Linked DNA regions of Homo sapiens: all the other regions are linked to region 1. Evidence: promoter capture Hi-C in 16 types of primary human blood cells and fetal thymus (Javierre and others, 2016). All regions are on one chromosome and are shown on one strand. The core of a region is centred on a gene start or on the middle of the fragment in contact, and the rest is flanking DNA. Distances in the headings are between cores, read along the strand shown. Region 1 holds the start of SIRT4 (sirtuin 4). Region 2 overlaps P2RX4 (purinergic receptor P2X 4). Region 3 overlaps LOC105370030 (a long non-coding RNA gene). Region 4 overlaps LOC105378258 (a long non-coding RNA gene). Region 5 overlaps OASL (2'-5'-oligoadenylate synthetase like).

Region 1 (5,587 bases), core at 1,472-3,971:
GCTGGAATTACAGGTGCGTGCCACCACTTCCAACAGATTTTTGTATTTTTAGTAGAGACGGGGTTTCACCATGTTGACCAGATTGGTCTTGAACTCCTGACCTCAGGTAATCTGCCTGCCTTGGCCTCCCAAAGTGCTGGGATTACAGGCGTGAGCCACCACACCCGGCCTCAACTTTCTTTAAAAAAAAAAAAAAAAAAAAAAAATATATATATATATATATATATATATATATATAAAATTTACTTTACTTATATAGAGACAGAGTCTCACTGTGTTTGCCAGGTTGGTCCTGAACTGTTAGCCTCAAGCAATCTTCCTGCCTCAGCCTTCCAAAGTGCTAGGATTACAGGTATGAGCCACTGTGCACCATCCTCAACTTTTTTTTTTCTTTTTTTCTTTTTTTTTGCACTGTTGCCCAGGCTGGAGTGTAGTGGTGCAATCTCGGCTCACTGCAGCAACCTCTGCCTCCCAAGAGATTTTCCTGCCTCAGCCTCCCAAGCAGCTGGGATTACAGGCATGTGCCACCACGACTGGCTAATTTTTGTATTTTTAGTAGAAATGGGGTTTCACCATGTTGGCCAGGCTGGTCTCGAACTCCTGAGCTCATGTGATCTGCCCACCTCAGCCTCCCAAAATGCTGGGATTACAGGCGTGAGCCACTGCGCCCGGCCCCAGTCCTCAAGTTTCATTGAGACAATCCTCAGGCATGTCCTAGACAGTTGGAGGGTCCCTCACAGGACTGAACCCCAGTGCCCAAGGCAGTAACCCACTCATTAACACACACTTTCTTGGCTTTCCTCTCTTTCCTGTTTTACATCCTTGCTCCGTCAATGAATTTACTGGAATCAACTGCAAAATAAACAACTTGCTCTGAAATCCTTTTCTCAAGGTCTAAGACTGTGGTGATCAAGACAGCCAAGGTCCCTACTCTCCCAAAACAACACACGGGTTTGCGTTCAAACCGTGTACAGCTCCTGCACCTGTCCATGCATCCGTGGAGCTCTGTCAGGCGCCGACTCCCCGCCTTGGTGTGCAAAGCATCCACATTTTGGGTCACCAACCAGTACAGCTTTCCGAGTTTCTCCCAGGTGCTCAAAGCCCAGTGTGCAGGGTTAGGCTGGTGGGAGGAGAATTGAGGCCAGCCTACGAAGTTTCTCGCCCAGTACCGCTGGCGGATTGGGGCACTCCGGACAAAATCACCATGCTGGATGGGCCTGCGGTCAGTGCGGGCATAAAGCCCCACTTTTTCTGACCTGTAGTCTGGTATCCCCGATTCGGTGGAGATTCCTGCCCCAGTCATCACAAGGAGTCTCTTGGAAAGGGTGATGAAGCGCTGTAACTCTTTGACCTTCTCAGGGTCCAGAGGAGGACTTGCTGGCACAAATAACCCAATGGAGGCTTTCGAGCACGGCTGGCTGGGGTTTGCGATCCAACGGCCTTTTGCTGACCTGAAAGTCAACGCAAAGCTCATCTTCATTCTAGAGAAAAAGAAGCCTCATGTGAGAAACTGGGGTGGTTTTTTTTTTTTCTCATTTTTTGTTTGTTTGTTTTCGTTTTGTTTTTTGAGACAGAGTCTCCCTCTGTTGCCCAGGCTAGAGTACAGTGGCATGATCTTGGCTCACTGTAACCGCCGCCTCCCGGGTTCAAGTGATTCTCCTGCCTCAGCCTCCAGAATAGCTGGGACTACATGGCCACCATGCCCGGCTAATTATTGTATTTTTAGTAGAGGCAGGGTTTCACCATGTTGGCCAGGCTAGTCTCGAACTCCTGAGCTCTAGTGATCTGCCCGCCTCGGCCTCCCAACGTGCTGGAATTACAGGTGTGAGCCTCTGAGTCTGGCCCTAATGAGTCAGGTTTTGTTTGATTTTGTTCATGTAATTAAGCACACACACGCATTCCTTTTATTTTTTCATTTCCCCCTTATTTTAGTTTACCCTCCACTGCAAGCTCTGCTACTTGGACACATCAGAGAGACAAGACCCCTGCCCGTCAGCTTTTCTAGCTGTAACAATAGAGGGCCGGGTGCGGTGGCTCACGTCTGAAATCCCAGCACTTTGGGAGGCCGACGCAGGCAGATCACTTGAGATCAGGAGTTCGAGACATGCCTGGCCAACATGGTGAAACCCCGACTCTACTAAAAATACAAAAAAAATTAGCCGGGCATTGTGGCACGTGCCCGTAATCCCAGCTACTAGGGAGGCTGAGGCAGGAGAATTGCTTGAACCCGGGAGGCGGAGGTTGCAGTGAGCCGAGATCGCGCCGTTGCACTCCAGCCTGGGCGAAGAAGCAAGACTCCGTATCAAAAAAAAAAAAAAAAAGAAAAAGAAAAAACTTTGACATATTATTTGACACAATGCAATGCATAAATCCTCTAGTGACATGCACCCCGTATGTAAACATTATTTTATGTTTGGCTTTCCAGATCTGAGATCAGGACCCCGCTTTCTCCTTGACATTCCACAGCAAAACGTGAACAGCTGAACAAACACACAGTCCGGTTTCCCGAGACCAAAGGGTCAGGGGAAACCCCCGCTGAAAACGTGCATCAGTGGAACAACTACTCTCTTCCAGGTCCCACCGAGGGCAAAGAGGAGAAATAGAATCCCTCACAAGAAATCCACAACTTCTAGAAATCCGCAGCACACACAGAACACACTTACCTCTCACAGCTCTACGGACACTTCACACCCCACAGTGGGACCGTCTGATTGCATTTGCATTTTGGGACATGTAGTCCAGAAAGCTTAAATGATGCGAGAAAAACCACAAGTCCCACAATCCTCCGCGTCTCGCAATTGACAGCCCCAGATCATCCAGGAACGCCCCCTGTCGGCTCTTTCTGGTCAGAGGTTCCCCCGTTAATATAAAAGCTTTTAATCATGGATTTTTTTCTTTGTTTTCAATTTCTGTGGGCACTTAGTAGGTGTATATATTTATAGTGTACATAAGATTTTTTTTCTTTTTTCTTTTTTTTTTTTAAGACGGAGTTGTTGTTTTTTTTTTTTGAAAAAACTCCAGTCTGGAGTGCAGTGGCACGATCTCGGCTCACTGCAACCTCCCTCTCCCGGGTTCAACCGATTCTCCTGCCTCAGCCTCCCGAGTAGCTGGGATTATTTTTGTATTTTTAGTAGAGACGGGGGTTTCGCCATGTTGGCCAGGCTCGTCTTGAACTCCTAACCTCAGGTGATCCGCACGCCTTGACCTCCCAAAGTGCTGGGATTATAGGCGTGAGCCACTGCGCCCGGCCATCTTTTCTCTTATTTTTTGTCTTTTTTTCTTTTCTCTGTGCCTGTCTATGCTTTACCCACATGAGATGTTTTGATACAAACATGCAATGTGAAATGAGCACGTCATTAATCATGGATCTAGATTTGACTTTTTTTTAAAGTTTTTGTATTTTTAGTAGAGACAGAGTTTCACCATGTTGGCCAGGCTGGTCTCGAACTCCCGACCTCAGGTGATCCGCCAACCTCGGCCCCCCAAAATGCTGGGATTACAGGCCTGAGCCACTGTTCCCGGCCTAGATTTGACTCATTCTAAACATCAGAGTTTGTGATCCTTTTCATTCACAACGACAGTATCAAGTTATTTGCTATTGGTAAAATACCTTGAACTTGTGAAGAAATGTGTTTATACATATCTGAAAAAGTGATAGTTTGTTGTTGTTGTTGTTGTTGTTTGTTTGTTTGTTTTTGAGACGGAGTCTCGCTCTGTTGCCCAGGCTGGAGTGCAATGGTGCCATTTCGGCTCACTGCAACCTCCGCCTCCCGGGTTCAAGCAATTCTCCTGCCTCAGCCTCCTGAGTAGCAGGGATTATGGGCGCATGCCACTACGCCCGGTTAATTTTTTTATTTTTAGTAGAGACAAGGTTTCACCATGTTAGCCAGGATGGTCTTGATCTCCTGACCTCGTGATCTGCCCACCCTAGCCTCCCAAAGTACTGGGATTACAGGCGTAAGCCACTGTGCCCAGCCAAAAGTGATGTTTTTACAGTTAATATGAAGCCAAATATATTATACCTGGACTAATGTACTTAACCTGCTTGGCTTCTCCAATTTTATTTATCATATTTTTTTTATTAAGTTAATCAAACAAGGCCTGCGTCTCACTCCCAGGGATTCTGATCTACAAATTTCCTAATTGTTCCTAATGTGTAGACAACCAGAACTGCCGCTCTGCAGCATCACCTAAATCAATAAATGTATAAGTGTCTTTGGACATAAAGGTGGGCGGCCAGCAGGGACCTTGAAGACCACCTAAGGACTCCCTTCCCCCATTTTAAGATGAATTGGGCTGAGTGCAGTGGTTCCCACCTGTAATACCAACACTTTGGGAGGCCAAGGCAGGAGGATCACTTGAGCCCAAAAGTTCAAGACCAGCTTGGGCAACATAGTGAGACCCACTCACTACAAAAAATAAACAAAATTAGCGGGGTGTGGTGGTGTGTGCCTGTAGTCCCAGCTACTCAAGAGGCTCAGGTGGGAGGATCACTTTGAGCCCAGGAGATCGAGGCTGCAGTGAGCCATAATTGTGCGACTGCACTTCAGCCTGGGTGACAAAGTGAGATCCCATCTCTTCAAAAAATAATAATAATAAATAAAGATGAACTGAAGTGCAGAGAAGTAATGTGGAAGCTTGAGAAAGAGTTTTTAGGTTTTTGGTTCTATCATTGTATCTTTGGAGGTAATATTGGCAAAATGACCATTTAGTAGTTTGCCCATTTCTGCTTTTTTTTTTTCTTTTTTTTGAGACAGGGTCTCGTTCTGTCACCCAGGCTGGAGTGCAGTTGTGACATCACAGCTCACTGCAGTTTCTACTTCCCAGGCCCAAGGGATCCTCCAACCTCATCCTCTCGAGTAGCTGAGATCACAGGCATCCACCACCACGCCCAGCTAAATTTTGTTATTTTTTATTTTTGTCGAGACACGGTCTCACTATGTTGCTCAGGCTGGTCTCAAACTCCTGAACTCAAGGAAAGCTCTTGCTTTGGCCTCCCAAAGTGCTGGGATTACAGGTGTGAGCCACCATGCCGGGCCTGCTTATTTCGACTTGGCAGCATCGTTTCATGAAGCCCCTGACTCTGTGACAACATACAGCTCTCCAGAAAGATGCTTTGAAGACAAAACAGAATAGAGCACACAGCCCTCCATGTCTCTTCCAAGTCACTATATTCATTAAAAGATAAATGACTCTGGTCATTGCCTTTTCCTGCACAAGATAATGTCTGATGGGGTTAGTGATGATACCTCTGTAATCCATAACCAGATATACTCTTGCACCCAAACTTTGATATGATTGTGCTTTAATGTAACTTTGAAGCAAGTTTAATGTGATTTTGCAGGCGCCGTACACTCACCACTTGTATATGAGTGGCTGAAATTCTGTGTTGGACCAGTCTGATGGAACTGCTCCCACACTATAGCCCTCGGTCTGTAATCCTCAGTAAGACTTGTAAGTAAAACTAACTTTAATTTTTTTTTTTTTTTTTTGAGAGAGTCTAGCTCTGTTGCCCAGGCTGGAGTGCAGTGGCGCGATCTTCACTCACTGAAGCCTCTGCCTTCCCGGCTGAAGTGATTCTGCTGCC
Region 2 (5,587 bases), core at 2,514-5,013, 910 kb before region 1:
CACTTTCAATGCCTGTGACCTATGGGAATCACCAAGAGATAATACAAATTATAACAGTTACCACTGGAGTGTTTATAGGCACCAGGCACTGATCTAAGCTCTTTATATGTATTAACTCATTTAATCCTGACCACTTTATGAGACAGGTATCATTATTATTATTTCCATTTTACAGAGGAGGAAATGGAAACACAGAGAGGTTAAGTCACTTGCCAAAGGTCACACAGCTAGTGAGTGGCAGAGTCAGGATTTGAACTCAAGCCAGAAGCATCTGAAGCCTCTTCTCTCACCCACTATGCTCTACTCTAAGCTTGTCTAACCCATAGCACACAGGCCGCATGCGGCCCAGGATGGCTTTGAATGAGGCCCAACACAAATTCGTAAACTTTCTTAAAACGTTATGAGATTTTTTTTTGTGTGATCAAAAAAAGTTTGTTTTTTAGCTCATCAGCTATTGTTAGTGTTAGCATATTTAATGTGTGGCCCAAGATAATTTCTCCTTCCAGTGTGGCCCACGAAAGCCAAAAGATTGGACAACCCTAGGCTACTCTTTCTAGAAAAGAGAATTCTACCCTTTAAGGAACTTTTAAGAGTAGTTTCTTACTTTTCCCCCAAGAATTCTGGTCACATATATGGTTCTCTCCTCTGAAGTGGGACTATGACTACCAGTTTGAACAATTAAAAATCCAAAGGGGCTGGGTACAGTGGCTCACGCCTGTAATCCCAGAACTTTGGGAGGTCAAGGGGGGAAGATCATTTGTGCCCAAGAGCTCGAGACAAGCCTGGGCAACATAGGGATCTCTACAAAAAATAAAAAATTAGCCGGGCATGGTCAGTTTTGATTATAGCAAGATGGACAAAAGCAAAGCATTTACTGCTTTAAAGATTCTCGTGACTGAGACAGTGAATACGTCATAAGGAATCCTACAGAGCTGTGCTGTCCAATAAAAATCCCGGCTATTTGGGAGGCTGAGGTGGGAGGATCACTTGAGCCTGGGAGACGGAGGCTGCAGTGAGCTGTGATGCCACCGCACTCCAGCCTGGGCGACAGGGCAAGGCTCTGTCTCAAAAAAAAAAAAAAAAAAAAAACCATCTACAGGCATTAGCTTATAGGGGTTAGGACAGACTGGAGGCAGAGGTCTTGGTTCATGGCTCAGCTCCACCATTCACGAGGCATAACTTTGGCCAAGGTGCTTAACCTCATTGTGCCTCAGTTTTTCCCATCTATAATCTGGGAATGATAGTAGATCTTCACAGGATTCTTGTGAGGGTAAAAGAATTAATGTAGGTCAAATGTTTACAACAATGTTTGTGAGTCATCGTTGGTCACAGAGCAAGTACTGACACCGTGGAAATTGGCCAGTACTACAAATCAGAACCCCTCCCCTTCGAACTGCTGTTAAACATCTACTAGAGACTATCAGTGTTGTTATTTATAGAATCAGGAAATGCTAGGCTTCTCCTTCTTCTAAGTCCTAGATGCTGAGACTTCAGAAATTCACTGGTTTTGTTGAGGTCAGGAGTCCAAGACCAGCCTGGCCAACATTGTGAAACCCCGACTCTACTAAAAATACACAAAATTAGCTGGGTGTGGTGGTGGGTGCCTGTAGTCCCACATACTCGGGAGGCTGAGGCAGGAGAATCACTTGAACCCGGGAGGTGGAGATTGCAGTGGGCTGAGATCATGCCACTGCACTCCAGCCTGGGCAAGAGTGAGACTCTGTCCCTCCACCAAAAAAAAGAAAAGAAATTAATGGTTTTGTTACTTATGAGTGTGTGTGATCGAGCAGTCTCCAAGTTCATTGCCCAGCCTAGAGATGGGCTTTCCCCCCATGGGCTTTTCCCCTGACAAGTCCAGGGCTTCTAGGAATTCAGCTGCAGTGTAAGCTTCCATTTAATTCCAGTCTGACACACAAAAGCTTGGGGCAGGAAGACTGATGTACTCATCAAGTACAGTGAGTTGCTTAATTTAGAGACACAGGGTTTCATGCCACTCATTATCATGTGATTATTTCCTCCTCATATGATTGTTAACAGAGTTAGATAGATGAGAATTGCGTGTTCGGTCTTTTTTTGAGGGAGGGTTGCTGTAGGAGGAGACCACAATTTCACTAAGATGAGTTGCATCAAAAAGTTAAGAGATGAGGTTAAAAAAAAAAAGAGCCTTAATGCAGGTCCTGAGTCAGTTTTGATTATAGCAAGACGGACAAAAGCAAAGCATTTACTGCTTTAAAGATTCTCATGACCGAGATAGTGAATGCGTCATAAGGAATCCTACAGAGCTGCGCTGTCCCATAAAAACATAACGCGAGCCACATATTTTTTTTTTTGAGACAGGCTCTCGCTCTGTCGCCCAGGCTGAAGTGCAGTGGCACAATCTTGGCTCACTGCAACCTCCGCCTCCCAGGCTACAGCAATCCTCCCACCTCAGCCTCCCAAGTAGCTGGGTCCACAGGTGTGCGCCACTATGCCAAGCTAATTTTTCGTATTTTTGGTAGAGATGGGGTTTCACTACGTTGCCCAGGCTGGTCTCAAAATTCCTAAGCTCAAGGGATCCACTTGCCTCAGCCTCCCAAAGTATTGGGATTACAGGCGTGAGCTACCACAGGGCAAGACCCTGTAATTTAAAAGTTTCTAGTAGCCATGTCAAAAAGTAAAAAGAAATAGAAAGGGCTGGGCACGGTGGCTCATGCCTGTAATCCCAGCACTTTGGGAGGCCGAGGCAGACAGATTGCTAGAGCTCAGGAGTTCGAGACCAGCCTGGGCAACATGGAAACCTCATGATTGTAGAGATGAGATTTCTCATCTGTACAAACAAACAAACAAAAACACAATAATTAGCCAGTCATGGTGGTGTGCACCTGTAGTCCCATAATTCCAGAGGCTGAGATGGTAGAATCACTTGAGCCTGGGAGGCAGAGGTTGCAGTGCATTGCACTCCAGTCTGGGTGACAAAGCAAGGCGCCGTTTAAAAAGAAAAAAAGAAAAAAGAGACAGGAAAAATTAATTGTAATGATATATTCTGTGTAACCCAATATATCCAAAATATTTTAACATGTCATCAATAAAAAATGTTTTCATGTGATAGTGGTACTCTTTGTTTTTTTGAGACAGTGTCTTGCTCTGTTGCCCAGGCTGGAGGGTGGTGTGATCACAGCTCTCTGTGGCCTCAACCTCCCAGGTTCAAGCAGTCCTTCTGCCTCAACCTCCCAAATAGGTAGGCCTATAGGCGTGTGCCACCATGCCAGGCTAATTTTTGTATTTTTTTGTAGAGGCAAGGTCTCGCTATGTTGCCCAGGTTTGTCTCAAACTCTTGAGCTCAAGCGATCTTCCCACCTCAGCCTCCCAAAGTACTGTGATTTCAGGCATGAGCCACTGTGCCCAGCCTCTTTTTCTGTACTATGTCTTTGAAATCCAGTGTGTATTTTAAGGTTATAGCACATCTCAGTGTAGAGTAGGAACGGTTAAGTGTTCAACAGGTGCAAGTTACTAGTGGCTACCATACAGTGCAACACCACTATGGATATTTTCCGCAGTTGTAATTTTACAGGTACCCTAAGGTAGATGTGCACTGATCCTCCCACTAGCAGCAAACGCCAAAAGCAAAAAGCTGCAGGGGAGCTCCTGCCCCCAAATGCTTCAGGTCCAACCAGGGATGTGAGTTCAGTTAACTGGCTAGCAGTGAGTCTCCAAAAAAAAAAAAAAAATATATATATATATATATATATATATATATATATTTGAGATGGAGTTTTGCTCTTGTTGCCCAGGCTGGAGTGCAGTGGCGCAATCTGGGCTCACTGCAACCTCCGCCTCCTGGATTCAAACGATTCTCCTGCCTCAGCCTCCCATGTAGCCGGGATTACAGGCATTAGCCACTAGGCCTGGCTAATTTTTTGTACTTTTAGTAGAGACGGGGTTTTACCATGTTGGCCAGGCTGGTCTCGAACTCCTGACCTCAGGTGATCCACCCGCCTCGGCCTCCCAAAGTGCTGAGATTATAGGCATGAGCCACCGTGTTCAGAAAAAAAAAAAAAAAAAATTCTTTTTTTTGCACTGCTCCATCAGTACAATTTACCATTTTAAACTTTATTTTTCTCTTAGAGATGGGGTCTCGCTATGTTGTCCAGGCTGGTCTTGTGTCCAGGCTGGTCTTGAGCTCCTGGCCTCAAGCAATCCTCCCACCTTGGCTTCCCAAAGCACTGGGACTACAGGTGTGAGCCAATGAGTCCAAATCTGGGTGTGGGCCAGGTGGTTCTGATGTTGAGTCTGCACCTGGAAAGCCATCCTCTTGAATACTGTCTGTATCTACTGCTGCTGCTGACAGATATTGGAAGCCAAACCTGCTTGGGCTTCCCTTGGGCAGTGTTAAGATTCCAAACCTCACCCCAAAGACGGGGGGATCTGTTACTTTTAAACAATTCCTCAGATGAGTCTTCCATGATCAGGTAAACTTGGGAAACACAGTTCATTGGTTCCGAAACGTTGCTGAACATGAGAATCACCTGGGCAGCCGATCATACTCTGCAGCAATTAAATCAGAAGGTCTGGGGATGCGTCTGGGCGCGGTGGCTCACGCCTGTAATCCCAGCACTCTGGGAGGCTGCGGCGGGTGGATCACCTGAGGCCAGGAGTTCGAGACCAGCCTGGCCAACATGGCGAAACCCTGTCCCTACTAAAAATACAAAAATTAGCCGGGCATGGTGGTGGGTGCCTGTAATCCCAGCTACTCAGGAGGCTGAGGCAGGAGAATCGCTTGAACCAGGGAGGTGGAGGTTGCAGCGAGCCAAGATTGCACCACTGCACTCCAGCCTGGGCGACAGAGGGAGACTCCATCAAAAAAATAAAAAAGGGTCTGGGGATGGGAGCCAAAGATTTCCAGATGGTTCCAATGTGCAGTTTGGAGACCACTGCACTAGGCAATACGTGTCAGCCCAGCAGCTGTAGACACCAGAACACCCCAGGTAAGCCTTTAAAGTGGCCCCAGGTGGCAAGGTAATTATCATCTTCTCTCTCGCGTTGTATTCAATTGTAACAGGTGCCAGCCCCGCGTGGGGGCTCACGCCTGTAATCCCAGCATTTTGGGAGGCTGAGGTGGGCGGATCACCTGAGGTCAGTTCAGGACCAGCCTGAAACCCCGTCTCTACTAAAAAATACAAAAATTGGCCGGGCGTGGTGGCGGGCACTTGTAATCCCAGCCACTCAGGAGACTGAGACAGGAGAATTGCTTGAACCCGGGAGGCAGAGGTTGCAGTGAGCCGAGATCGTGCCATTGCACTCCAGCCCGGGCGACAAGAGAGAAATTCCGTCTCAAAAAAATAAAAAAATTAAAAAAGTAACAGGTGCCTTCAAGTACAATGGCACATTCAGCGAGGCCTGAGGGCGGTAGGGCATCTCTAGCCTAAGGGGGCAGCATGGGGAATGACTGACTAGGCTAGGGCAGGTACCACAAAAAGCCCCACAAGCCCAGAAAACAAAGGAAGCAAACTTTAAACACTCGCTACAGTCTGACCTCGCTACTACCACATAGTGACACCGCATAGTGATCAAAAGAAATGACCAAAAGCCACCCACCCAGAAGGAACCA
Region 3 (5,587 bases), core at 1-2,500, 820 kb before region 1:
TGTACAGATATTCCACATTTTGTTTGTCTGTTAATCCGTAGATGAACATTTAGTTTCTTTCCACTTTTTGGCTACTGTGGATAATGCTGGTATAAACATGGTTCTACAAATTCCTATTCATGTTCCTGCCTTCAATTCTTTGGGGGGATATAGCCAGTAGTAGAATTGCTGGGTCATGTGGTAATTCTGTATTTAAGTTTTTGAGGAAACACGTTTTGTTTTTTCTTTTTTATTCTTTTAACACAAAGAACATTTCTTCTGTATTTTTATGTAATCTGCCAGGATAGCCACGCGTGCCTGATAGCATCTCCTTTTAAACCCAAAAGCTGAATACATCACCCTTGGAAGGGGAAATATCTTCCTTGTATCAGTGAGTCACCGCCTCTCTCGCTAAAGCAGAAATAAAAATTATTAATTTAATTCCAGCTGGGCACATTGGCTCATGCCTGTAATCCCAGCATTTTGGGAGGCCAAGGCAGACAGATCATCTGAGGTCAGGGGTTCGAGACCACCTTGGCCAACATGGTGAAATCCCATCTCTACTAAAAATATAAAAATTAACTGGGCATGGTGTTAGGCATCTGTAGTTCCAGCTACTCAGGAGGCTGAGGCAAGGGGATCACTTGAACCTTGGAGGTGGAGGTTGCAGTGAGCCGAGATCACACCGCTGCATTCCAGCCTAGGCAATGAGTGAGACTCCGTCTTAAAAAAATAAAAATAAAAATAAAAATAAAAATGTAATTCCAACAGTGCATTTTGCTACAGAGGATAGAGAGGGGAAGCAGAATAAAGTTATGCTGAATAGTTGGACATTTAGGACATGAGACAAAAAACAGAAGCAGAGAGACTGAGAGAAGGAAGAGAGGAGCTGAGTTATGGGGCTGTGGCGTGAAGACCACCAGCCCCAAGACTCCCTCGAGTGATCCTCAATAAAGAGTTCCTCCCTAGTCCTGGACTCCAGGAGGCCTGACTCATTTACAACATGTCTTCTTGTTTTCTACGAGATCTCGTCTTCCATATTTCTCTCTGAGCATCCGCATAAGAAGCCCTAAGTGTGTAACTGTTCAAACGAACGCAGCTAAAACACAGTCTCATTCCCTTGGTTCCCACCAAACTGACAGCACCTTCATGTCAATGACATTGACTCACTTGGGCCCATTTTGTTGAGCCAGTGACATGGCACTCATCAGAGTAGTCGTCTCAATCCAGCTAAAGAGCTCCAAGCCAAATGGAGAAGCCAGTGGAATGGGTAGGAACTGGGATTGTCACTATGCTGAGGAATGGAGATGGTGATATGGGATAAAGCAGGTACAGCAAGCAGGACGTGAGGGCCAGAGCTGAGGGGTCTGCAGGTCAGGAGGCTGAGCTCAGGATCGCTGGAGGCCCCAGGAAGGTGTAGGGAGGGCACCTTGGTTCTGCCCACCTGCAGGAAGAGAAGAGGGGATGGCGATAGAGTCCATGATTGAAGATCTCTGTACTTCTCCCTGCCCATGGCATAGCTCTTACCAAAACTCCCTCTTTTCACTGGCCTTTTTATCCAGTCAAACCAAATTTCCCTTGTCTCTCTCTCTCTCTCTCTCTTTCTCTTGCTTTTTTTCATACCCACCCCCATTTCTCTTATGCCTAGAACAGTCGCCCACTTAGCATCTGCCTGCCCAGTACTTTGCCTTCCTTTACAACTCCACCTACCACTTAATTTCTCTAAGTGGCTAATTAACTGAAAGTTGAATAATTATACCTCTTTCCCCAAAACACATCTCTGAAATCCCACATGCCCCTGGGGTTGCGATCCATGAAGAAAGGTCTCTGACTACCTAATTTTCATTAAGGGAATTCAATGAGATGACTAATTACAAGCACCATGCCTGGTATCTAATACTGTTCAGTGAACTGCAGCTATTAATTAATAATGATATGTTATTAATAATAATAAAATAATAATATGATATAAGCTCTTAGAAGACAAGGACAGTGGCTGCTCTATGCCAAGTTTCAATAATCCAATATTCAATTTTTTTTTTTTTTGAGACAGAATCTCGCTCTGTCGCTCAGGCTGGAGTGCAATGGCACGATTTCGGCTCACTGCAACCTCCATCTCCTGGGTTCAAGCAATTCTCTGCCTCAGCCTCCCGAGTAGCTGGGATTACAGGTGCCTGCCACCATGCCCAGCTAATTTTTGTATTTTTAGTAGAGACAGGGTTTCACCATCTTGTTCAGGCTGGTCTTGAACTCCTGACCTCGTGATCCACCCACCTCAGCCTCCCAAAGTGCTAGGTTTCTAGGCGTGAACCACCATGTCTGACCTCAGATATTTAATTGTAGCAGAGATTGATAGATTTTTCTGCCATGCCCATCTTCCCCCTCTAGCTCAATTTGAGATCACAGACCTTCATATCCATAGCTGTGGCTTATTGGACCAGGGTGAACATCTGCCCAGGAGAGCAAGACTATTGGCTGGTCAGTGGCCAATTGGGACTGCTCTATTGAGAATATGAGCCATGTGTAGCGGCTCATGCCTGTAATCCCAGCAATTTGGGAGGCCAAGGCAGGAGGATCACTTGAGGCCAAGAGTTCAAGACCAGCCTGGGCAACATAGCGAGACCCTGTCTCTACAAAAAAAAATTTTTTTTAATTAGGCATGGTGGTGTGTGCTTGTAGCCTAGCTACTTGGGAGCCTGAGGTGGGAGGATTGCTTTAGCCAAGAGTTTATTTGTAGAGATGAGGTTTCACTATGTTGCCCAGGCTGGTCTCAAACTCCTGGGCTCAAGCAATCCTCCCACCTCGGCCTCCCAGAGTGGTAAGATTACAAGCGTGAGTCACCAGACCCAACCCCAGCTCTGCCATCTCTATGGTGTTACCTTCATCAGCATGATCCAAAATGGTTCCCACCAGAACTGAATTCTAAAAAGGCTGGAAGCACTTTAGGAGGCTGAGGCAGGTGGATCACCTGAGGTCAGGAGTTCGAGACCAGCCTGGCCAACATGGTGAAACCTCATCTTTACTAAAAATACAAAAAATTAGCTGGGCGTGGTGGCACGTGCCTATAATCCCAGCTATTTGGGAAGCTGAAGCAGGAGAATTGCTTGAACCCAGGAGGTGGAGGTTGCAATGAGCGGAGATTGCACTACTACACTCCAGCCTGGGTGACAGAGCAAGACTCCATTTTTCAAAATCAATAAATCAATAAAAAATTAAAAGCCTGGAAGAAAGAGGAAAGGAGAAAGAGAAGGCATGTTCCTCCCTTGAAGGATGGGATCTGTCACTGCCACTTGCAGGTCATTGGCCAGAGCGTAGTCACATGGTCACACCTACCTGCAGTAGAAGGTAGGAAATGCCATCCTCATTCTGCTGACCATGTTCCCTACCGAAAATCAGGGAGCCAGACATTGAAGACAACCAAGAATTCCTGCCACCAGTACCCATGAAACAGTCCTCTGAGCTGGGGCTGAATGAGTCCTACACATGGAAGGAAATCTTTGGGTTTCCAGGGGATCTGGGCAGCTCTGAGGCATATAACATAGCCCAGCCAGGAAAAAGCTCCCAAAAGAGAATTTATTTGTCCAGGAATGTACAGGCAAAAAATCACCATTCTGTGTTTTTCCATGGGGTAGAGGCCTGACCAACCTCATGTGGTTTGTTCCGTCCAGCTTGGCACTGACAGAGGCTGGTGGGGCCTGGGGGAGGGTCTGAAAATCCAGGGTCTCAGGTATGAACTACTGCTCTGATCAACTGCTAGGCTGTGTCCTGTGGGAATGTGCTGGGTTTCTACATGACCCAGAGGTCACTGATTTCACAAGATCTGCAAACAATCCAATATTCAAATATTTAACTATAGCAGAGATTGATAGATTTTTCTGCCATGCCCAGTATCCCCCTATAGCTCAATCTGAAATCAACAGACCTTCATATCCACAGCTGTGGCTTATTGGACCATTCCCTGATCCACCAGCTGAACGAGAGTCATGCTGTCCTCTGAGGCTCCACCATACCTGGAATAGACATCTCTTGGTAGGACCATGCTTCCTGTGTTCTCAGTTGATATGGCTCAGATTGAGCTGTCCCCTTCCGCAAGTCCCAGGGGCAGGTCCAGGATCCAGTCCTAGATAATCAAAGCACAATTTTTCCCTGGCTACTGTGCTTTGTTCAAGAGCAGGCACATGATTCAGGTTGGTCTGAGACAAGTCTTGGAATTTTGGCTAAAATCATTGAAAAAGTGGTGCTCTTTGAGTTGGAGTTGCTAAGCTGGCAGGACATAAGCCTAAAGCTCTTGGTGGCCGTCATGCCAGCAGGGAATTAAGTTGACTCAGAGAAAACCAGAGGCAGAGGGTAATGATGGAGGGATTTCTGATGACATCATTTGAACACACTGATCAAGCCATACCTGAAACCTCACTAGATTTAGGAGCCAATAACCTCCCTTTATTGCTTAAGCCAATTGGAGCAGGCATACATATCACTTTTGACCAAGAGTCTTGGCTAATCTAGCATCTTTGTGTCCCTTCATAACGTGGCTTCTCACTTTGTATCTGATGTGGCAATTATTCCTGAGCACAATTAATGCGTCCTCCTTGGCTACGAGAATTTTTTTTTCTTTTTTTTTTCTTTTTAGATGGAGTCTCTCTCTGTTGTCCAGGCTGGAATGCAGCGGTGCGATCTCAGCTCACTGCAACCTCCACCTGCTGGATGCAAGTGATTCTCCTGCCTCAGCCTCCCGAGTAGCTGGGACTAAAGGTGCATGCCACCACGCCCGGCTAATTTTTATATTTTTAGTAGAGACAGGGTTTCACCATGTTGGTCAGGCAGGTCTCGAACTCCTGACCTCAAGTGATTTGCCCTCCTCAGCCTCCCAAAGTGCTGGGATTACAGGCATGAGCCACCGTGCCCAGCCAGCTATGAGATCTTGAAACCAGAATTCCTCCTAGGTGCCAGACACAACTCAGGTGTTTGGGGAATGCTTGGTGAATGAGTGGCTGGATCGATGAATGGATGGACTGATGGATGGAAATAATTAAGATAATACACGTCCCTCCAGAACATCAAGCCTCCAATTGCAGCCTATGCTTCTCCAGGCCTTTCTCAGAATCCTTGCCCCATTCTTGTGTTCATTCACTGAGGTAATAAATGTTTATTGCTCACTACAATGTGTGAGGCTGTGTGCCAGGGAGTGTGGCACAGTGGATTCCTCAGCCTAGACACTGTGGACACTTTTGTTTTTTGTTTTTGTTGTTATTGTTTTTGAGACAGGGCTTCACGCTATGGCCCAGCTGGAGTGCAGTGGCACAATCACAGCTCACTGCAGCCTCAACCTCCTGGGCTGAAGCAATCCTCCCGCCTCAGCCTCTCAGTTAGCTGCGACTACGGGTGCATGCCACCATGCCTGGCTAATTTTTTTTGTATTTTTTTGTAGAGATAGGGTCTTCCTATATTGCTTAACCTGGTCTCTTAATCTTAATCTTAATCTGGTGGCACCCGGGCTCTGGAGTCATATGGACCTGGATTTGAACCCCAGCTCTGCCCCTTCATCTTGGTGTGACCCTGGACAACTTGCTTAGCATCTCTGGGCCTTGATTTCTTCATCTGTAAAGTG
Region 4 (5,587 bases), core at 1,452-3,951, 760 kb before region 1:
TGCAGTGGCACGATCTTGGCTCACCGCAACCTCTGCCTCCCCAGTTCAAGCGATTCTCCTGCCTCAGCCTCCCGAGCAGCTTGGATTACAGGCGCCCACCACCACGCCTGACTAATTCTTTTGTATTTTTAGTAGAGATGGGGTTTCACCATATTGGCCAGGCTGGTCTCAAACTCCTGACCTCAAGTGATCCACCCGCCTCAACCTCCCAAAGTGCTGGGATTACAGACATGAGCCATCGTGTCCGGCCCCATAGCAGAGATTCTTAACTTGGGGTCCAGGAAGCCCCTGAAATTGCATGCAAAATATTAGCATTAACATGTTTTTTAGAGGGAGGGCCCCTTGCATTCATCATTTTCTCTGGTGCTCACAAGACTTCAAAATGTTAAGAAACACTGGGGTAAATGAAGAAGCAAGCACCTCCAGGAAGGAGGTCCCGCACCACCATGCACAGAGTGTCTGCAATGCAGAACCAGAGAGGACCTTTGGGATGGTCCACTGTGGTTGAGCCACCATACTCAAAGATGGGGACCCTTGATAGATGCCTTGACGAAGCAAGCAGAAGGTCACCAGGAAGTTCTCTGTCCTCCACCATCTATCCGTTTTATGGACTAAAAAATAGTCACAAGATTGAAGTGCTTTTGCTTCCTAGGAAACATGGTGTCATTCATTCATTTATTCAGCCAACATTAACTGAGGCCCCATTGTGTGCCAAGAAATGTGCTAGACCCTGGGACCACGTGCTTCTCACGCTGAAGATTCCCAGTAGAGAAGACACATAACAAACTGCCCGTAGAATGGGGCTGCCTTATTCATTTATGTATTCTCCAAGCCTCGCCCAGTGCCCAGCACGTAGTAGGAGCTCAATAAATAATAAGTGCCTTGGGCAGTAAGATAATGTCGTGGGTAAACCTCTGGCATTTAGAATCAGAGAACCTGGGTTTGAATCACAGCTTGTCCACTTCTTTGGTGTGTGACTCTGGGCAGGCCACATCATCTTGCTGAGACTCGATTTCTTCATAATGTAACATGGTGTGAACCTGCATCACAGAGTCTTGTGGGGATTATGGGAACTAAACTGTGAAAAGAGGCTGGGTGTGGAGGCTCGCGACTCTAATCCCAGCACTTTGGGAGGTCAAGGCAGGCGGATCACTGGAGCCCAGGAGTTTGAGACCAGCCTGGGCAGCATAGCAAAACCCCATCTCTACAAAAAAAAAAAGTACAAAAATTAGCCAGGCTCAGTGATGCATACTTGTAGTCTCAGCTACTCAGGAGGCTGAGGTGGGAGAATCACTTGAGCCTGGGAGGTGAGGTTGCAGTGAGCCCAGATCATGCCACGCACTCCAGCCTGGGTGACAGAGCCAGATCCCATCTCAAAAAAAATAAAGAATAAAATAAACTGTGTAGAGAGCCTGGTATACACGAAGTGCTTGATAAGTATAGCTATTGGAGTTAATATCAATACCATAATGTCAAAGAGCCCTGGTAAACACTCTGGGCTCCTGTCTGCCTTCTGAAAAACAAGGATTAAGCAGATCCCCTCTGTCTCTTCTGTACTAGGATCCTAGGAACTACAAATGGTGATTGTTTTAGGTGGGTGTGGAGCATCATCTTGTGGAAGAGAGGAAAATTGACAAAAATGTCGCAGTTTCCTATTAAGAATATATATTGGAATTCACAGTTTTTAAAATATGAGTACATATACCAAAAATGCCCTAATGCAAGGTGATCCCCAAATCCAATCAATTTTTCCAATGGACTAATAACAAATATTTGCCAGGGAGAAAATAAAAATGTGTTTGAGAATCACATGGATCAATGGGGAAAAACATAAAAATAAATGAAAAATAAAAATATGTTGGCATAGCCCTAATTACATAAGCTTAAGGGAAATCAAATATGCACTTCCAATATTTCGTTAATTTATTTAGATACAGCTATACATTTGTATATGTTATGGGGTAATATACAAATATTACTCTTTTCCACTTTCAGTTTTCAAAAAGATTTTGTAACTCAAGCTCTTCACAGGCATCTCCCACTTAGTGGTTTTCCCTCTCCAAGGCAATTTTTGAATCTTCTAAGCCTGTGTTTCAGGGCTCAGTATTTTTTACTCTGTTAAGCAGAGTGAGAGACAGGCTGTCATGAATCTGGACATTTTTATTTTTAATTTTTTTTAGACAGGGTCTCATTCTGTTGCCCAGGCTGGAGTGCAGTGGTTTGATCACAGCTCACTGCAGCCTCGACTTCCCAGGCTCAGGTGATCCTCCCACTTCAGCCTCCCTAGTAGCTACGGGCACATGCCACATGCCCGGCTAATTTTTTTGTATATTTTGTAGAGATGGAGTTTTACTATGCTGCCCAGGCTGGAAATCTGGACATTCTTAACAAACCTCAGTGACATATTTATGCGTTGTTAGGGCATTTTTAAAATGCATCCTATAGGTGCATACTTATGGCCTCCACAGTATCAATGTGGGATTTACTTTCTTTCCTTTTTTTTTTTTTTTTTTTTTTTTTTTTTTTTTTTTGAGACAGTCTGGCTGGAGTGCAGTGATGCCATCTCGGCTCACTGCAACCTCCGCCTCTGGGGTCAAGTGATTTTCCTGCCTCAGCCTCCCAAGTAGCTGGGATTACAGGCGCCTGCCACCACGCCTGGCTAATTTTTTTGTATTTTTAGTAGAGACGAGGTTTCATCATGTTAGCCAGGCTGGTCTCAAACTCCTGGCCTCAAGCGATCCTCCCGCCTCGGCCTCCCAAAGTGCTGGATTACAGGCGAGAGCCACCGCGCCTGGTCGCTAGTTGAGATCTTTAAAAGCCAATGTGTCTACCACAAACTGTCAGTTTGCTCTTCAAAATGAAGTTCTTGAGAGAACAGCGCCCCCTAAAGACAATTTTTTAAAAGATTACCTCCTTCCTGTGGATTATTGGTGAGGGGATAGGGGAGACCTAAATATACGCAACAAAACAAGTAGTAAAGGGGTGAGTATGTCTTTGCTTTTAGAAAATAAAGAGTCAATCCCAGGCCCCAGGACTCCCGGGGCTCAGCCCAAGCCCCCATCCCCTCACCCCAAGGAGCCAGCACCTTCTGATTCCGGGGCAGACACTACTGAGTTCCCGTAGGGAGACAAGGTCTGCTCCTGCAGCAGGAAATAGGGGATGGAGAGGTGGGGGCAGCCCAGCTCCAGGACACCCTGGGAAACTCCCAGCCTGAGAACCTTCCTCTCAAGGAAGCCCAAGGGGCACTTGGCTCCATCTCCAGCCTTTTTTCCTGGCAACCTCAAATGGAAAGAGAAAATTCCTCTTTCAAAGCTCAGCAAATTTTCTGTTTCCAATTAAAACAAAACAAAACAAAACAAAAAAACCCAAACAAACAAAACAAAGTTCAGTTTCAGTTTCCATTCTCAGCCGGCAGGAGAGATGGCTGCTGAACTAAGGCAGCCCAGCAGAGGGAGGCTCAGCTGATGCCTGGAGGGCCCCCTAGCCCTCTCTGCACCCTAAAAAGAGGAAAGTAAGCTTAGTGATTCTTCCGTCGGTGGCTCACGCCTGTAATCCCAGCACTTTGGGAGCCCAAGGCGGGCAGATCACCTGAGGTCAGGAGTTTGAGACCAGCCTGGCCAACATGGTGAAACCCCGTTTCTACTAAAAATACCAAAAATACCAAAAATTAGCCGGGCGTGGTGTCAGGTGCCTGTAATCCCAGCTACACAGGAGGCTGAGGTGGGAGAATCCCTTGAACCCGGGAGGCAGAGGTTGCGGTGAGCTGAGATCACGCCATGGGTGACAGAGCAAGACTCTGTATCAAAAAAAAAAAAAAAAAGAAAGAAAAAGGGCAGCTAACTCTCTCTCTAACCCACACCATCTCCCTGCCCTTCTGCAGTTCTGTGGCCTACTGGACAAAGGCTGGGAGTTGCCCCTTACAGGGCTGGGCAGAAGCAGAGACGATTCATTCCTGGTCCCACAGAGATGGCAGGCTTCCAGGACCTGTATGACACCCCTGGGGACAGGCTGGATGTCTTCATAAAACATCCTTCCAGTCTGCCTTCGTAAAACAGCCTCCAGCCCCAGGGAGACTGGAAGGATGAAGTGAAGGATGCCGGGCATTGAACTGAGCAGTTCTTGAGGGATCAGTTCTTCTATAATGAGCTGATTCTGGACCAGGAAGTCAGGGTGCTGAAGATGGCAAAGGTGAGCACTCAGGAACCCCCGGGGTTCAAATCCCAGCTCTGCCCTGTGGGACTGTGGGGCTGTGGGATAGGTAAGGGATGAGTTATTTTGTCTCTCTGAGCATCGGTCTCTTCCTCTCTAAAACCGGTTTCTAATGAACAATAAATGGGATAAAGCATAGAAAAGTGCTCTTAAGCAGTAAACTATTCTACAAATCTGGATGATGATGATGATGATGATGATGATGATGATGATGATTTGGGATCCAGCTCTCTAAGTGCCAGGGAATCAAGTGGACTATGGGTAGCAGGTTTGTATAAAATTTATGCCTTTTGGCCAGGCACAGTGGCTCACACCTGTAATCCCAGCACTTTGGGACGCTGAGTGGGGAGGATCACTTGAACCCAGGAGTTCAAGGCCAGCCTGGGCAACATTGCAAGACCTCATCTCAATTATTTAAAATTTTAAACTTTTTTATATATTATTTAAAAAAAATTTTTAAAGAAATTAAAATAAAATTTATGCCTTTTGTTTCCTCTTTAACCAGCCCCACTTAACCCCTAAAGTCATCAAGATCATCTATATTTTCCTTCTAAAATGGCACTGACTGGCCGGGCGCGGTGGCTCACGCCTGTAATCTCGGTACTTTGGGAGGCCAAGGCAGGCGGAACACGAGGTCAGGAGATCGAGACCATCCTGGCTAACATGGTGAAACCCCGTCTCTACTATAAAAATACAAAAAAAAACTTAGTCAGGTGTGGTGGCAGGCGCCTGTAATCCCAGCTACTCGGGAGGCTGAGGCAGGAGAATGGTGTGAACCCGGGAGGCAGAGCTTGCAGTGAGCTGAGATCACGCCACTCCAGCCTGGGTGACAGAGTGAGACTCGATCTCAAAAAAAAAAAAAAAAAGTAAAAAAATAAAATGGCGCTGACTGATTTTGTTAGAAACTACCTAGCAATTAGGTAATATCAGAGGGTACTCTCTGGGTTCAGAGGGTTTGTTAGAGGCTGACCATGGAATCAAATACGTATTTATAGCATGGTTTCCCCTGGGAAAGTACTAAACTATAGTTCAACTTTTAACATATCACCCTAAATCAAAAATGCCTTAACCATAAATCTAGATTTGGTTTATTTTGCTAGAATGAAAGACATCTAACATTATCTTAAGCAAATCAGACTTCACCTGGGAGTGGCAATGGCTGCCGAGAATACGACTGAAAAGGAAGGAAATGCAGCTTTAATGAATCTTCAGGCCAGGCACAGTGGTTCTCGCCTGTAATCCCGGCACTTTGAGAAGCCAATGTAGGCAGATTGCTTGAGCCCAGGAGCTCAAGACCAGCCTGGGCAACATCACGAAAACTTGTCTCTACAAAAAGCACAAAAAAATTAGCCAGGTATGGTAGCATCCACCTGTGGTC
Region 5 (5,587 bases), core at 1,110-3,609, 720 kb before region 1:
ACTTCTCTGTACATTTCTGCCATGTACTCCAGAACTCATCCTGTCAATCACTCTGTCCCATTGTCTACTGGGAAGGTCCCAGGTCTTCACCAGTTTTACAATGAGTTATCCCAGGCCAGACGTGGTAGCTCACACCTGTAATCCCAGAACTTTGGGAGGCCGAGGTGGGAGGAGCGCTTGAGCCGAGGAGTTCAAGACCAGCCTGGGTATCACAGGGAGACCCCGTCTCTACAAAATAAAAAAATAATTCACTGGGTGTGGTTGTGCACATTTGTAGTCTCAGGCACTCAAGAAGCTGAGGCAGAAGAATCACTTGAGCCCAGGAGGCTGAAGCTGCAGTGAGCTGTGATCACACCGCTACACTCCTGCCCAGGCCACAGAGCAAGACCCTGTGTCTAAAAACTAAAACATAAAAATAAGTAAATCCGTTTAAAAAAAGGATTATCCCAGCCCTGCCAGGGGGAGGATGAGGAGGGGTGTGAGGACTAAATATACAAATAAATAGTGTGGTCACATGACGCACAGCAACAGAATTCGGACCCACAGCCTTCTGCAGCAATCAACCCCAAACCATCAGGACTTGGGCGATAACTGGCAGCATCTCTAACTCCCCACCCTACTCCCATCCTGCTTCCTATTTATGACCAACCCAAGAAACCCAAATAAGCTCCCCAGACCAATCACATGGTTAGCCCCACTTCTGGTGAGTGCACTTCCAGCTTCCCCATACCAACAGCCTCAATCACGGCATCCCTGAAGCCTTCCCATTTTCCTGCCTGTCTTTAAATCTCTGTCAAAAGCGAGAGATGGGTGGCTGGTTCCTTTGCTATAGCAAGTTGGGAATAAATCGCCTTTGTTAGTTCTCATTTGGGGGCTGTTTATTTCCACAGGGCCTAATGCTGTCCTAATGGTTATTGCTTGATCATTTGAGCTTCTCAACTCTAAGAAATGAGGACTGGGGAAACTGAGGCAAAAAGAGACAAAGAATGGGAGATTGAGGATGATGCAGTGTAAAAAAAAATCACCTCAACTCCTAAAACCCATACACAAACAGTACATAATAGTCAGGAAACTGTAGGAAAGTAATAGCATCTTTATTATCAAAGGACGTCATGTGATCAGGTTTACTCCAAGCAATAAAAAGTTTCCTTTTGCCCCCCTGTTTTGCCTAGTTTTCTGGTGGGCTACTCTCCTACCATAGCATAGAAAATGCACACTGCAATTGGTTATCAACAGCCTCTGGTCAATTTAGCAATCATAATCTGTGTATCTCCCACCTCTGTTTGCCTTCAGGGACAGAAAAAGTGCCTCCTTTCCAGGAGGTAGACAGGCTGTTCCAGTCCCCATCTTTGTGTCCTTCATAATGCCCAGCACAGCCCACATTGTAGGTGGTGGGAAAATTCTTGTTTAAAATAAAAAAAAGAATGAAAAATGCAATGTCTTAGTCCATCTGGGCTGCTAAAACAAAATACCATACACTGGATGGCTCATGAACAATAACCATTTATTTCTTACAGCTCTGGAGGCTGGGAAGTCCAAGTCAAGACACTGGCAGATTTGGTGTCTGGTGAGGACCTCTTCCTGATTCACAGATGGCAGCTTCTCACTAAGTCTTCACATGGTAGAAGAGGCAAAGGTGTCTCTAGGATCGCTTCTTTTTTTTTTTTTTTTTTTTTTTGAGATGGAGTCTCGCTCTGTCACCCAGGCTAGAGTGCATTGGCATGATCTCAGCTCCCTGCAACCTCTGCCTCCGAGGTTCAAGCGATTCTCCTGCCTCAGCCTCCCGAGTAGCTGGGACTACAGGCACCTACCACTGTGCCCAGCTAATTTTTTTTTTATTTTTAGTAGAGACGGGGTTTCACCATCTTGGCCAGGCTAGTCTCGAACTCCTGACCTTGTGATCCACCTGTCTTGGCCTCCCACAGTGCTGGGATTACAGTTGTGAGCCACCATGCCTGGCCTCTGGGGTCTCTTTTATGAAGGCATTGATCCAGTTCATGAGGGCTCAGGACCCATTATGTAATTGAAAGATTCTCCGTGGGGCCTGAAAGCTTAAGAGAATGAATGACCCCTCCCTCCCCTCCCTCCTTGGGCCCGGTCCCAAGGCGCAAGGCCACTCGCGCCAGCAGCATGTGTCAGCAAGATAGCAGAAGCGGGAAGAGAGCGGGCCAGAAGACACCTACCCCCTGAAGACCGAGAGAGACGTCATCCGGGTACAATGTAGCGGTTACAACAGACTGAGAAACTTCCTGTTTACAGGAGACTACAAAACCCCTGCCCCGTCCTCATTTGGTGCTGACGCCATTTTAAGCCTCAGCCCACCTGCACACACACTGCCTCATGTTGTCTGTTGGCCACGCTCTTGGGGTTCGAACCAACACAAGACCCTTTCACTAATTACTTCCCAGAGGTCCCACCTCCTAATACCATCACCTTGGGAGTAAGGACTTTTTGGAAATTATCAGTATCAAAATGGAGTCACTTATGTCAAACCCTAACAAATGCCTGTCACAAAAATTATCTCAAGAAGTTCCTAAAATCCGCAGTATTATAGATAAACCACTTGCATAAGAATATTTGCCTAACAGTGGGTGTCTCCACAATAAGCTAAAGCCAACTCCTGCAACAGGCTCCTGTGATCAACGGTACTTGTTTTAAAGAAGCTTATGTGGACTTTGTCTTTTCTCGTTGCCACAACCTCTTTTAATGTGCCTATAGTCCACTATAGCATGCATATCTCAAATTGCAATTCCTTGCAATTCTGGAATAAACGCTTTATTTTGGAGAGTCAGTCTCTCTGTTATTTATTTTATGGTGTCAATTTTAACATATGAATTTTGGAGGAACACATTCAGACCATATCAGTCACCTTCCTCTTCTTTGAAATAGAAAAAGCTCAAGGCCAGAGAGTTTATTTTAGTAAAGTTTTGACATACCTGTCTTCAAAGATAAAACATGAAACAGCATTCCACACACAAAAGTAAAGTGATTTTGTTCATCCTTCACTGTGAGGTATTTTAACCACAGAGATTCTAATTTTTTGGTCTTGGATGGGTCCTGGGAGTCAGTATTGCCTGGCTAATTTTTGTATTTTTAGTAGAGATGGGGTTTCACCATGTTGGTCAGGCTAGTCTCGAACTCCTGACCTCATGATCTGCCCGCCTCGGCCTCACAAAGTGTTGGGATTACAGATGTGAGCCACCGTGCCCGGACAGGATTCTGCATTTCTCTTTTTTTTTTTTCGAGACAGAGTCTCAGTCTGTTGCCCAGGCTGGAGTGCAGTGGCACGATCTTGGCTCACCTCAACCTCCACCTCCCAGGTTCAAGTGATTTTCCTGCCTCAGCCTCCTGAGTAGCTGGGACTACAGGTGCGTGCCACCATGCCCAGCTAATTTTTGTATTTTTAGTAGAGATGGGGTTTCACTATGTTGGCCAGGCTGGTCTCGAACTCCTGACCTTGTGATCTGCCTGCCTCAGCCCCCCAAAGTGTTGGGATTACAGGCGTGAGCCACCGTGCCCAGCCTGGATTCTGCATTTCTAACGAGCTCCCAGGTGTTACCAATGCTGCTGGCTCATGGACTACACTCTTAAGTAGTAAGGCCCTAGGCTATTAAAGGAAATACAGATTCCTGGATTCCACCTATCAGAGATTCTGATTCTGTTAGTATTTTCTGTGAGACCCAAAAGTCTGCAGTTTAACCAGCTCTCTAAGGTGTTTCTTAGGCCCAGCTGGACTGGGAAATTACTAGAATAAATGACATGGAATCAAAACCTGGGAACTAATCCTGGGTCTGTCATTAACTCCTTAGGAGATTCCCATCCCCTCTGGAGATCTGTCATCAAGAAATGATTGGAGAAGTTAATCTCTTAGGCCCTTCTAGCTCTTGCCTTTGAGAACCGCCCACCTCCCCATTCCCACCTGGTATCCCCAACCCAGTACAGTTCATGGCCAATGGCGGTCCAAGTCTTGGAACTACAATCCCCACAATGCCTCGCGCCTCTCCTCTCACGTGACGTCATGAAGGAGGCTTGATAACGGCGGTGTTCTCCACAATCCTTTGCGGTGGTTCAAGATGGCGGCGCCCAGTGGCACAGTGAGCGATTCGGAAAGTAGTAACAGCAGTAGCGATGCGGAGGAGCTGGAGCGGTGCCGCGAGGCGGCAATGCCGGCTTGGGGCTTGGAGCAACGCCCGCACGTGGCAGGGAAGCCAAGAGCCGGTAGGGTACTATGTTTGGGGAGACTGGCTGAGGGGCGTGGGATCTTCCCCTGGAGCCTGAGAGGATGGATGGTGAGGAGAGAGTCACTGGGACTCGGCTTCCTTCCCCGAGAGACCTCCAGGGACTGGGTGTAGTGCAGATTGAAAGCATGGGCAGGTGCAGTAGGGAGGGTATTTCATTATTCCAGTCGGGGAAGCTGAGGTACCCAAATGTCTTTTGATTCTGCCTCCTTGGGTCTATCCTCACTGCCCCACACTGGGAAGGCTGCCGTCTCTTCGAGATAACTGCAACAGCCCCCTCCCGGTATTCTCGCACCCAGCCTTTCCCCACCTCCAACACATTCTCCCACCCTGGAGGTTGTTGCCAAGAGCAGTGCCCAGCACATCACTCTGACCGTGACTCCCTAGTGCCCTGGGAATAAATACAGAGCCCCGCAACATCAAGGGGCCTAATCATGGATAGAACCCAAGGGTTCTTGAATTTGGAATGAAAACATGTTGCATCTTTGCTTTCTATTCATCTCTGACTGAATTTTAGCATCTCTTTCCGTCTTGCAAGCACTAAGCCACAGTAGTTCTGGCAATGCCGTTACTTTATCCCAACAGAAGTCACAGATTTTCATATCTCATTACAATCTTTGCAGATACAGATATCAATATATCATTTTATTGATAAAAAGATATTGGGGAAAAAAGTCATTTACACTCATCCCTGATTTAAAATGTGCCACTCTAATTTTTAGACCCATCTCTATATCTAAGATGTAAGAAGCACATACATCACAAGTTTGGTTGTTTACTATCATGATAATTAAATTTCGGTATCATTGGTTTTCTTTGTAATCCTGTATGTTGCATTTCATGCATTTAAAACATTGCTCTGAGAAGAGAACCGGGCTTCACCAGGCTGTTAGAGAAGGCTATGGCAAAGCAAGGTTAAGAACCGCTGGATTTGTTTAAAAGGACTTACAAGCCCTTTGGTGATCCATTGCCTTCCTCTCCCTTCCTTCCCTCCTGCCATACTGCACTTCCTGTAGGTAGCTTCCAGACCATAGTCTGCCCCTCTCACCCCCTAGTACCATAACCACAGTTTTCTCTGCAAGTTCTATTTACAGATCTGCCTTTCCATCTCATTAGCGGTGGGAACTTGAGCAAAGTACTTAAATCTCACTGTACCTAAATTTCCTCATCTGTACAGTGCGGGTAGTGATAGTACCCACCCCATAAGGTTGAGAAGTAACTGAGATAATGCAATCTACAGTGCTTGGCACATCTTAAAGGCCCAATACATGGTGGCAAATATGTGGTTGGTCTTTCCACATGGACTGCTTTCCTCCTCCTGCCTAATTCTCGCTCTTTTTTTTTTCAAA

What was found. Contacts are between HindIII fragments. The CHiCAGO score rates a contact against its expected background, and 5 or more counts as called.
Region 2: a fragment that was not itself captured here is called in contact with the fragment with the promoter of SIRT4 in region 1 in 1 of 17 cell types (total B cells); the score reaches 5.4 in total B cells.
Region 3: a fragment that was not itself captured here is called in contact with the fragment with the promoter of SIRT4 in region 1 in 1 of 17 cell types (naive B cells); the score reaches 7.6 in naive B cells.
Region 4: a fragment that was not itself captured here is called in contact with the fragment with the promoter of SIRT4 in region 1 in 5 of 17 cell types (naive B cells, fetal thymus, naive CD4 T cells and 2 more); the score reaches 7.3 in naive B cells.
Region 5: a fragment that was not itself captured here is called in contact with the fragment with the promoter of SIRT4 in region 1 in 3 of 17 cell types (total B cells, fetal thymus and non-activated CD4 T cells); the score reaches 6.6 in total B cells.

The regions. Positions count from the first base shown.
Region 1 is chr12:120,299,455-120,305,041 of GRCh38, reverse strand. SIRT4 (sirtuin 4) reads right to left here and starts at 2,721. Exons shown (of 4, transcript NM_012240.3): 1 at 2,664-2,721; 2 at 984-1,481. The coding sequence starts at 1,480. The HindIII fragment of the contact is 5,713 bases long and covers 1-2,748 here.
Region 2 is chr12:121,210,945-121,216,531 of GRCh38, reverse strand. The region is part of intron 1 of P2RX4 (purinergic receptor P2X 4); the gene reads right to left. Among named protein-coding and RNA genes, the nearest start is that of P2RX4, 3.6 kb to the right of the region's middle. RefSeq lists an enhancer at 5,578-5,587. The HindIII fragment of the contact is 3,683 bases long and covers 1,922-5,587 here.
Region 3 is chr12:121,115,285-121,120,871 of GRCh38, reverse strand. LOC105370030 (a long non-coding RNA gene) reads right to left here. Exons shown (of 3, transcript XR_007063494.1): 2 at 3,990-4,099; 3 at 1,166-1,423. Among named protein-coding and RNA genes, the nearest start is that of P2RX7, 15 kb to the left of the region's middle. The HindIII fragment of the contact is 9,656 bases long and covers 1-5,587 here.
Region 4 is chr12:121,058,050-121,063,636 of GRCh38, reverse strand. It overlaps LOC105378258 (a long non-coding RNA gene), which reads left to right. Exons shown (of 4, transcript XR_007063492.1): 4 at 3,881-4,347. It also overlaps the pseudogene OASL2P. Among named protein-coding and RNA genes, the nearest start is that of OASL, 22 kb to the right of the region's middle. RefSeq lists enhancers at 3,056-3,235, 3,256-3,425, 3,546-3,635. The HindIII fragment of the contact is 1,634 bases long and covers 1,885-3,518 here.
Region 5 is chr12:121,014,961-121,020,547 of GRCh38, reverse strand. OASL (2'-5'-oligoadenylate synthetase like) reads left to right here. Exons shown (of 6, transcript NM_003733.4): 6 at 1-1,437. C12orf43 (chromosome 12 open reading frame 43) reads left to right here and starts at 4,061. Exons shown (of 6, transcript NM_022895.3): 1 at 4,061-4,218. The coding sequence starts at 4,074. RefSeq lists a silencer at 3,965-4,158 and enhancers at 3,886-4,395, 4,367-4,882. The HindIII fragment of the contact is 612 bases long and covers 2,054-2,665 here.